3 separate regions of the Homo sapiens genome follow, and regions 1 and 3 are each linked to region 2. Evidence: promoter capture Hi-C in 16 types of primary human blood cells and fetal thymus (Javierre and others, 2016). All regions are on one chromosome and are shown on one strand. The core of a region is centred on a gene start or on the middle of the fragment in contact, and the rest is flanking DNA. Distances in the headings are between cores, read along the strand shown.

What was found. The method cuts DNA at HindIII sites, captures the fragments that hold promoters and counts their contacts. A CHiCAGO score of 5 or more calls a contact.
Region 1: a fragment that was not itself captured here is called in contact with the fragment with the promoter of SEC24D in region 2 in 1 of 17 cell types (total CD4 T cells); the score reaches 5.7 in total CD4 T cells.
Region 3: a contact is called between a fragment that was not itself captured here and the fragment with the promoter of SEC24D in region 2, in 1 of 17 cell types (activated CD4 T cells). The highest score is 6.5, in activated CD4 T cells.

What each region holds. Positions count from the first base shown.
Region 1 is chr4:121,792,493-121,795,790 of GRCh38, forward strand. No RefSeq gene overlaps it. Among named protein-coding and RNA genes, the nearest start is that of EXOSC9, 7.2 kb to the right of the region's middle. RefSeq lists a silencer at 2,002-2,296 and an enhancer at 2,002-2,296. The HindIII fragment of the contact is 7,280 bases long and covers 1-3,298 here.
Region 2 is chr4:118,834,792-118,838,119 of GRCh38, forward strand. SEC24D (SEC24 homolog D, COPII component) reads right to left here and starts at 1,335. Exons shown (of 23, transcript NM_014822.4): 1 at 1,150-1,335. RefSeq lists enhancers at 691-1,582, 1,203-1,497 and a silencer at 1,009-1,498. The HindIII fragment of the contact is 6,235 bases long and covers 1-3,328 here.
Region 3 is chr4:121,816,833-121,820,060 of GRCh38, forward strand. It overlaps EXOSC9 (exosome component 9), which reads left to right. Exons shown (of 12, transcript NM_005033.3): 12 at 1-189. The coding sequence ends at 24. It overlaps CCNA2 (cyclin A2), which reads right to left. Exons shown (of 8, transcript NM_001237.5): 5 at 2,540-2,747; 6 at 1,968-2,081; 7 at 1,212-1,345; 8 at 1-854. The coding sequence ends at 806. Among named protein-coding and RNA genes, the nearest start is that of CCNA2, 5.4 kb to the right of the region's middle. The HindIII fragment of the contact is 236 bases long and covers 1,185-1,420 here.

The DNA.
Region 1 (3,298 bases), core at 409-2,908, 3.0 Mb after region 2:
TTATTACTTTTTTGTCTACCTGTCTCTATAATATAGGCTCCAAGTGACCTGTTCTATTTTGTTTACATTATCCCAGTGCTTAAAATAGAGCCTGGCACATAGTAGGTTCGCAAAGAATACTTATATAAATGACTGAATTCTTATAAATTTTTACTTCTTACAAACCTAATTTTTATTAGTAATACTAGAAACAAAAATTAAGGGAAACTCCCATTATCAAACTTTTTTTTTTTTGAGAAAGGGTCTCACTCCGTCACCCAGGCTGGAATGCAGCGGCATGGTCACGGCTCACTGCAGCTTCAACCTCCCAGGCTCAGGTGATCCTCCCACCTCAATCTCCCAAGTAACTGGGACTATAGGTGTGTGCCACCACACCCGGCCAATTTTTGTATTTTTTGTGGGGACAGGGTTTTGCCATGTTGCCCAAGCTGGTCTTGAACTCCTGGGCTCAAGCAATCCTCTTGCCTCAGCCTCATGAGTAGCTGGGATTATAAGTGCACACCACCATACTTGGTGTTAGCAACATCTTGATAACCTCAAATGTTGAAAAAAAAAAAAGGCAAATGGGGATTTTATTTATACTATCATCAAGGTGAGAGTAGTCTAGTGAATTACGAGATTCATAAGTAATGCTCACCTGAGAAGAGTTTGTGCTCAAAGTTGCATTAGTCATCTTTTGCTTCTTAGCAGCCTAAAGCAGCATACACTTATTATCTCATGGTTTCTGTGAGTCAGGAACCCAGGCATACATTAACAGGGTTTGCTTAAGGGTCCCTCTTAAAGCTACAATCAAGATGTCAGCGAGGGCTAAAGTCTCATCTAAAAGCTCAGCATAGGAAGCTCAACAAGCTCACTTCTGTGACTGTTGTCAGGCTTCAATTCCCTTTGAGATATAGATTTAGGTCCCAAATATTTACCTGGCAACTGGCTGCAGAACACCCTCAGTTCCTTGTCATGTGGGCCCCCTGACATGGAAACTTGCTTTATCAAATCCAGCAAGAGAGGGAGTCCGCTAGCATGATCGAAGTTATATTTTCTTATAATCCAATAACAGAAGTGTCATCCCCTTAATGTTGAGGTATTCTGTTGATTACAAGTAAGTCATTCAAGGGGAGGGGATCACATAAGGCCCTAAATATCAGGAGGTATGAATCACTGGGGGCCATCTTAGGGGCCTGTTACCACTGAAATACTATCTCAAAATAATATTATATTGCTTGCTAGAGAAATGTACGCTTCAGCCAGGCACAGTAGCTCACACCTGTAATCCCAGTAACTCAGGAGGCCGAGCTGAGATGATCACTTGAGGCCAGGAGTTAAACTAACCTGGGCAACATAGTGAGACCCATGTCTAAAAAAAAAAAGATAAAGAAAAGAAACGTGCCTACATGATACCACAGTCCAGCCTAGGCTGTCCATGGTCACCTCATGGGAGAGTCAGCATCGTCTGGTGTTCTCCCATTTCTGCTGAAGCTGCTGCCTCTGAAACAGCCTAAGCCTTCCTTGTTAGACAACTTTAGGAAGAAGCAAGCAGGGTAAGAGCGAAGAGATACAAAATAGAAACTTTTCCTCTTAAGTCATTTATTTGAATAAGGAGTTGATCAATGGTATGGGTACAGCATCCCTGGGAGTTGGGCTAATGGAGAGCGGCCAACATAGTACAAATAACGTATTCTGTAAGAGCCTATCCATCAAGAACCAGGGCCACTTTTGCATGTAGAACTCCTCCTATTGCTTGTGATAAAAGCTCAATATCAACCTCACTCTTGCCTGTATGCTAGCTTTGGAATTGTAGTCAGACTTCATATGTCTCTTTGCATTAATGAGCCCTACTTCATCATTATACTTCTAATTGTGTGTCAAGTTAAAGCATGAGAAATTGAGTTTGGATAATCTAATAATAGCAGCTTTATTCTCTATATGGATATCAGATGGCAAAGTAATTAAATGAGGAAAGTTAAGATCCTCACAGAGAGAAAGGCAATAACCTGGTTTGGTGTTAAGAGTGAAGAGAATACACTTGCCATAGAAATGAATTCCCATTTACAAGAAGCAGCACAGAGTACAGTCTCTGGAGTCAGGCTGTCTGGGTATGAATCCTAGTTCTGTGGCTTACTAGCTGTGCAAACTTGGACAGATTACTCAATCTGTCTGTACCTTGTAACATAGGCATCTGTAAAAGACAGATAACGAATACTGGTTCACTGTAACAGATGGACCACACTGATGAGGGCTGTTGATGGGTGGACGAGGTTGTGTATGTGGGGGAAAAGTGTATGGAGACTTCGTGTACTTTCCGCTCAATTTTTCTCTTAACCTGAAATTGTTCTTAAAATTGTCTATGAGTTTATAAAATCATGATGTTAAAATATGCCTCAAGATTAGATTGTCACTGAAAGCACTCCTTCCACAAAGTGAGTGAACAGCAAGTTAGCAAACATTGTAGGGAAGTACCTCCTATTGAACTTTGCTGGCACCAATCACACTGCCTAGCACATAGCAGGAATTCCACCTAACTCTGGAAATCTGTAAGCAGGCAGTTAGCACTGCCTTATGGGAACAGGGGAGTGGAGGACACCTCCCCTCACATTTTGCACAAAACAGACAGGGAATCCTAGAGCTAGATAAGATTGGATATATATCTCTCTCCTAGAAATTTAGATCAGGGCTTCTCCAACTTTAACGTTTATAAGAATCACCTGGAGGGGGCTGGGCACAGTGGCTCATGCCTGTAATCCCAACACTTTGGGAGGCCGAGGTGGGCGGATCATTTGAAGTCAGAAGTTGGAGACCAGCCTGGCCAACATGGCAAAACCCCATCTCTACCAAAAATACAATAAATTAGCTGGGCTTGGTGACACATGCCTGTAGTCCCAGCTACCTGGGAGGCTGAGGCAGGAGAATTGCTTGAGCCAGGAGGTGGAGGTTGCAGTGAGCCGAGATCACACCACTGCACTCCAGCCTGGGTGACAGAGTGAGACTCCCATCTTAAAACAAAAAACAAAAAACAAAAAACAAAACATTACTATTTGAGACTGTCACTACAACAGTTACTACTGTTACTACTTGAGACTGTCATTACAAGACTTACTACTGTCACTACTTGAGACTGTCATTACGAGACTGAACGAAAACGGACGCATGCAGAAATGAAAACTTAAAACAAAAGAAACTGTTTTAAAGGAAGGGACCAGGGGAAAAAGAAGAGGGCTCCTTGCTTCTAGTGAGCAAAGGCAGCAGCCCCTGAGCTTCTGCAGCCCTTCGTATTTATCGGGTAGAAAGAGCAGGGAGAAGGAGG
Region 2 (3,328 bases), core at 85-2,584:
TATTCTTCCTTTTGTTCTTTTATTTGCTACAATTTAAGATAAGAGATCAGTGATACCTGCTAAGACTTAGAATCTGTCTATATTCAAGAAATAACATTTCAAATTAAAAATTTGAAGCCTAAAATTTGTGATTTGATTTTGTTTCCATATTAAACTATAAGTTTCCAAAATAAAAGCAACCATGTAAAAATATTATGAGATCATTTCCTTCTCCTGGGAAGGGGAGAACTGAAAAAGAGGAGAGAGGCAGGCAAAGGCCTTCTGGTCCACTTTGTTTCTGACAACCCCTTTTTCCTCCTCCCACTTAGCAGAGAGAGACGTGGCAGCCTGAGCGCTGGTCAAGCTCATCCAACCAAGAGCACTTAGGAAGTCGGCACGAACACACCTAAGTAGCAGCCTGTTGCTGAGTGACAGAAAAGAGAGGCTGAGATGGTCACTCCAAAGAACAGGAAGCAGCCAGTTCCCTCTGAACTGGTCCTCAGAGGAATCAGCTTCCTCACGCAACCCAGTTTGCCACGTCAAACTTCCTCACACAGAGCACCAAGTTAAAGAAACCTGACTCAGCTTCAAGCGGCGACACGGCAGAAAGCCACTTGGTATAAGCAGGCCTAGGATCAAAATCTGGGGAGCCCCAACCCCAGAACGGCCCCCTGGCTCACTGTCACCCAGCAACTCTAGCCAAGGTGCACTTCTAACCCTGGAACAAGTTCGTATTTGGCCAGATCAGTTTCACTATTCGGATGTCCCGAGGCTTCAAGATATAGTTGCCATTTTTACCATGAATATTTCTAACATTTCCTTCCTTCAAAAAAGGAAATTAAGTTGATAAGGAGATGAGAAAACCGCTGGCAATGACACTCGAATGGTGGCCACTGAGGATCCTAACAAGGCAGTTCCTGCATCCCAAGGCAAAAGGTGGGGGCGGGTAAAAAATGCCCACGCCCACCTCCTGCTCCCCCATCCCGCCGGCCCCACTATTAAACTGCACTAGAAGGCTAAAGAACAAAGAATGAGTTCTCCTCCCGCCGCCACTGCCTCAGGTGAGCACCCGGCCTCCCGCCGCGTCCCCGGGCCGGGCGCCGCAACCCGCTCCGCTGTGCCTGGGCAGGGCTGTCCCGCATGAAGGCGTCCGCGGGTGGGAGGCTTTACCTGTTCCCGCTCCCGCACCCCGCGGGCTTCCGAGCGCTGGCGGCTCTGCGCCTAGTGCCGGCAGCCCTCGGTGGCCGGGCTCCCGCTGCGGTCGCTTCTCCCGCCGCGCCTCTTCCCCGGCCGGCGTCCCCTTAGCCTGGACTCACGCTCGGAGTTGCAGCTGGGCTGGGAACTGCCACGTCAAACCCTTTCTCGGCTGCGCGCCCCCAGCGCCGGGCTTGGACCAGCCGCCGCGCTCCCGCCTGCGCACGCGCACAGCCACCGGCCGCCGCGGGGCGGGGCCACCGGGCTGAGCCTGCGAGCGGCCGAGCGACCTCCCCCTTTTCGCTTTTTCCCTTTTTCCGGTTTTTTGTTTTTTGGTTTTCTTTTTCCCGTCTTTTCTTTCCCCTCCCCCTACAGGTCAAAGCCTTTAACGTCGTGGCTAAATCAGAACCGTATTTTCTCGGCGCAGCCCCGCAGGAAGGAGGGGAGCGCGTTCATTCATTCTTCCATCAACAGGTTGCAGTTTCAGCTCTTCATTCATTACGTATTACTTAAATAACTAATAGTTCAGGTACTGCACTACCGTTACATACGGGAAAGTACACGATCTGGACCTAGGGGAGATTACCGTTTAAAGGCGAATCTGGCACGTGTACACGCACATTTGATGACGTACCCGTGCAATGCACTACAGAGGAAGGAACGCCCAAAGCAGCCTGGCAACGTGTAACGCGGGAGGAGTGGGGGGTGGGGGAGATGTCCCAAAGGAAAAGTGTGGGAAGTGGGGTTTCCATTGATATTGGGGTTGTTAGCGTTGTGTATACTCCTTCTTCCGCATATTCCTTGTTTGTGAAGTAGGATGGCTGATCCCAGCCCCAAACAGGAATCTCTGCATGGAAAAGCACCCAGCGTTTAGCTCACCGTCCTGTGAGAAACAGCTCAGAAATAAAGGCAACCTATATGAGATCTGGAGCTTACCTCTCTATCTCACCCTAAAATCAGGACCATCTGGCTGGTTTCCTATCATCTTTCACTGCTAAATAGAAAGACATTCAGCCACTCCCAGGTTTGGTATAGCTACCACTTTGCTCAAACTTACAAAGTAAAAACCAGCCCGGTGTTGTTGTTTTTAACATGCACTTTCTTCCCGGCTACAAGAAAGCCACTTGACAAATACCTTTACTGATGAACTGCCTAGGTAAAAACGTACATGGGGATGTTGCTACTCCCGAAATGCTACATGAATTGTGCAGGAATTTTAAGTCATTTTAGCAGTAAAGATATATGGTCCATTTATCCCACTCTTAAAAGTTTTTAAGGCATGGGGCAAGGCACAGTGGCTCACACCTGTTATCCCAGCACTTTGGGAGGCCAAGCAGGGAGGATTGCTTGAGGCCAGGAGGCAGTGAGCTATGATCACACCACTGCGTTCCAGCGTGGGCAACAGAGTGAGACCCTGTCTCAAGAAAAAGAAAAAAAGATTTTAAGGTAAGATATCTGGCCTACATCCAGCTTCAACACTGATCAGGTTTGAAAACCCACATTGAAATTTTTGTTTTAAATTGTTTCTTGTATTCTCAATGTGATGAAAATGTTCAGTGGAAGTTTAGGAAGTTTTGGCCGGTGTTGAAGCAGTACAGCTTGTAAAAGCAGTGAAAGAACTTGTCATATAACAGCTACATTACAAGGAGCGAGTGAAGCTATGATACAAAGATAGGAGAGAGTAAAGTCAGAAACAGTCACACCATGTGATGACCTGCTTGACTTGTTACCCCTATAAAACCACTACTTTTGAATTGTAAATACATCCTCACCTCCTGCTCAGGTACCAAACTTGTCTGAAACCAGGACAATTTGTGGTTTCAATTCTAAAACAGTTTTTAATTCCTAAATGTTAAAGCTGGAAGGGACTTGGCCGGGCGCGGTGGCTCACGCCCGTAATCACAGCACTTTGGGAGGCCGAGGCGGGCGGATCACGAGGTCAGGAGATCGTAGACCATCCTGGCTAACACGGTGAAACCCCGTCTCTACTAAAAATACAAAAAATTAGCCGGGCATGGTGGCGGGCACCTGTAGTCCCAGCTACTCGGGAGGCTGAGGCAGGAGAATGGTGTGAACCCGGGAGGCAGAGCTTGCAGTGAGCAGAGATCACGCCACTGCACTCCAGCCTGGGCGACACAGCCAGACTCTGTCTCAA
Region 3 (3,228 bases), core at 53-2,552, 3.0 Mb after region 2:
AAAAAGAAGAGAGCTGCCAATTAAAGCTAACAGTTGTATATCTGTATATATAACTATTAAAAGGGATATTTATTCCATTCTGAGAACCCTGGGTATTTTTTATTCACAAATCCATTATAAAATCTAGCAGGATTTTAAAAATAGTTTTTTGTTTTTAATGTGCTTTAAAATAATAAACCTTCTGGAGCATTTCTCGTCTGTTAATTTGCATATAAGCTTCCCACCCTCTTCCACTCCCAACCTCTGTTGAGTTTACCTCGCAAAACCTAAACAAACAGGTTTTACAAAGAGCGAAAAAGTCTGGGGAATCTCTACTGTATCTATCTCTGAATACTGTATTCAGATATGCTTAGATTAGATTATGCCCAAGTCAGCAAATTGATCCAGTTGCTTAGGAAAATGAATGTCAGAATTTGAGGGTCTGTTTTCCTAAACCTACTTTAATTTTAGAGGAAGGCTTTTCACTTCCCATTATATAGTAAACCAAGTAAACTTCTTTACTAAGCAAAATCCTGAAGAAGTTAAATTTGACTTGCAAAGTTTTCCAAATCAATTTATTATCCTGACAGCTGGCATCATTAATACTTTAACAAAACCACTTAAAATTAGCCAAATATCTAAGACAGATACATATACAAAAGATATACAAATTAAAACCATTTAAAAAGTAATAGATACCATAATTTGTACTTGGCCACAACTTCTGTATTCAGAAATGATTGTAAAATTAAAACCTAAGTTAAAAACTGTACACCATATACTTTGAGTGATTTACATCTTAGAAAACAAAGGCAGTCTTTCATTGTTACAGATTTAGTGTCTCTGGTGGGTTGAGGAGAGAAACACCATGATACCTGTAAGTAGGGAAAAAAAAAGCATTTTTAGTAAACACTCACTGGGTAAAGGAGATCATGGAATAATGTTTGTACTCATGTATTGGGAACTAAAAAATGCTATTTCTGTCTGACCGACTTGATGGTTTTAGAAACACTGTCTGGTCCCTGAAACACACATGCATGCCCCCTTCCTTCTCTCTTCTCCCCCAGACCCAGGGCAGAAAGCATGAACTACAACCTTCTTCAAACACATAACCAATTTAGAGAACAGCTTCTCAAGGAGGCTATGGCAGATTCATGAATAAGGTTAAAATGTCAAAGATCTCTGAACCATAATCTAGAAAAGTAAGCTTCAATATCCAAGTTAATTCTTACTTTGAATTTTTGTACTTTTCTCTTATTGACTGTTGTGCATGCTGTGGTGCTTTGAGGTAGGTCTGGTGAAGGTCCATGAGACAAGGCTTAAGACTTTCCAGGGTATATCCAGTCTTTCGTATTAATGATTCAGGCTACAGAGAAGGGAATAGAGAACCCCTGAGTTTTGCTTTTAGTAACACACCAAACACAGTAAATAGTTGGCATTAAGCTTATGTTAAATTCCAGTACTAATCTTTAACTTTTCCAACTACTAGTTTTCTCAGGCCATTATTCCATCCCTCGATCCATTTTCTACTACTTTCCCTGCCAGCAACAGGTCAGATGCTTTTAAAAAAGCTCACCTTTCAATCCAAGTTACAACTAAGCTTACTACCTAACAAACACTGTTCAACAGGTAACATGCCTTAAACAGTATATAATCATCCCTCAGTGTACATGAGGGATTGGTTCCAGGACCCTTCCCAAATATACCCAAATCTGTACATATTCAAGTCCTGCAGTCACCCTTCCATATATATGGGTTGTGAATCCCCTGAATACTGTAGTTTCAGTCCACATTTGATTGGAAAAAAATCCATGTGTAAGTGGACTCACACAGTTCAAACCTGTGTTTTTCAAAGGTCAACTATATATATTTGAAGTTTTTCCAAGTAAGAACATCTAGGCAACCCTCAGTTTTGTAGGACAATTATTATTTAATCTGGCACAGGCATTTCAGTCACAAGATAGGTGTGTGAAGACCGTAATACATACCCAGCTTTGTCCCGTGACTGTGTAGAGTGCTAAATGAAAGGCAGCTCCAGCAATAACTGATGGCAAATACTTGAGGTATGGGTCAGCATCTATCAAACTTAATTCTCCCAAAAACTGGAATAAAAAATACTTTATGATCACAAGAGCGTTTAGAATTCAAATGTCAAACCTCTGCCTTCTAACCTAATTTTTTCCTGCCTTTGATAACGGCTCTGTAGCAACTCTAGAAAAAATATCTCACAGCCTCATCTTTAAACATATCAATCATTTTAGTGTTTTGTTCCATCCTCATCCTGTATTTTCCCTCCTTTATTAACTTTTAAAAAACAACTCTTCTGACTACCCATCCCCAAGATGTCATCCTTAGACCTCTGCTTCTAGTGCTTTCCTGATATAGATTATCTTTTGCCAGCAGTAGGCTTTCTTCCATACTGCAGCATTAATCTCCCTCTGAATACTAAATCTCTTCACCACTGCTGTACAAAGGAACTAGGTTCCTTTACAAAGGAATTAGGGCTTACCCCTAATTATTACCAAAGAATCACCATTCAACAAAATGAAAGTTAACTCACCATTGCTAAACTTTCAACTTTGCAGTTTGCAGGCTGCTGATGCAGAAAGTATTGGGTAAGAAACTGATTTACTGTTGGAGCAGCTAAGTCAAAAGTAAGGACTTTCAAAACTAGATGCTCCATTCTCAGAACTTGTTTCTTGGTGTAGGTATCATCTGTAATGTACACAAACTCTGCTACTTCTGGGGGGTATATTTCTTCAAACTTTCTACAATGAAAAAAGTTTTAAGTAATCAGTCCTAAAAGAGAAGCAAGCTTCCTTATCCCAGTTCTGAAATCCCATTAGCAGAATATGGAATGAATCCAAAATCCACACCAACTGCATTTCCAGACACTTGATCATCATTTCTAGTAGAGACTGGATAGCTAATTGCTAATTAAAAGGCCCAAATCAATAAAGGACTTTTGAGATATTTTCCCCAGTTCAGTCAAAGGAAGTAAATGAAAGGCATGAGACTTCTCGAGATGGGAACAATGCCAGAGTTCACCAAGTAGCTGAAAATTTAGGAAATACAAGTCTTAGGAAAACATGTTTCATGTTTTCATTTTTAAATTTAGTTTTTCTTTCTTTTTTTTTTTTTTTTTTGAGACAAGAGTCTTGCTCTGTCGCCCAGGCCAGAGTGCAGTGGTGCAATCTTAGCTCGCTGCAACTTCCACCTCCTGGGTTCAAGCGATTCTCTTGCCTCAGC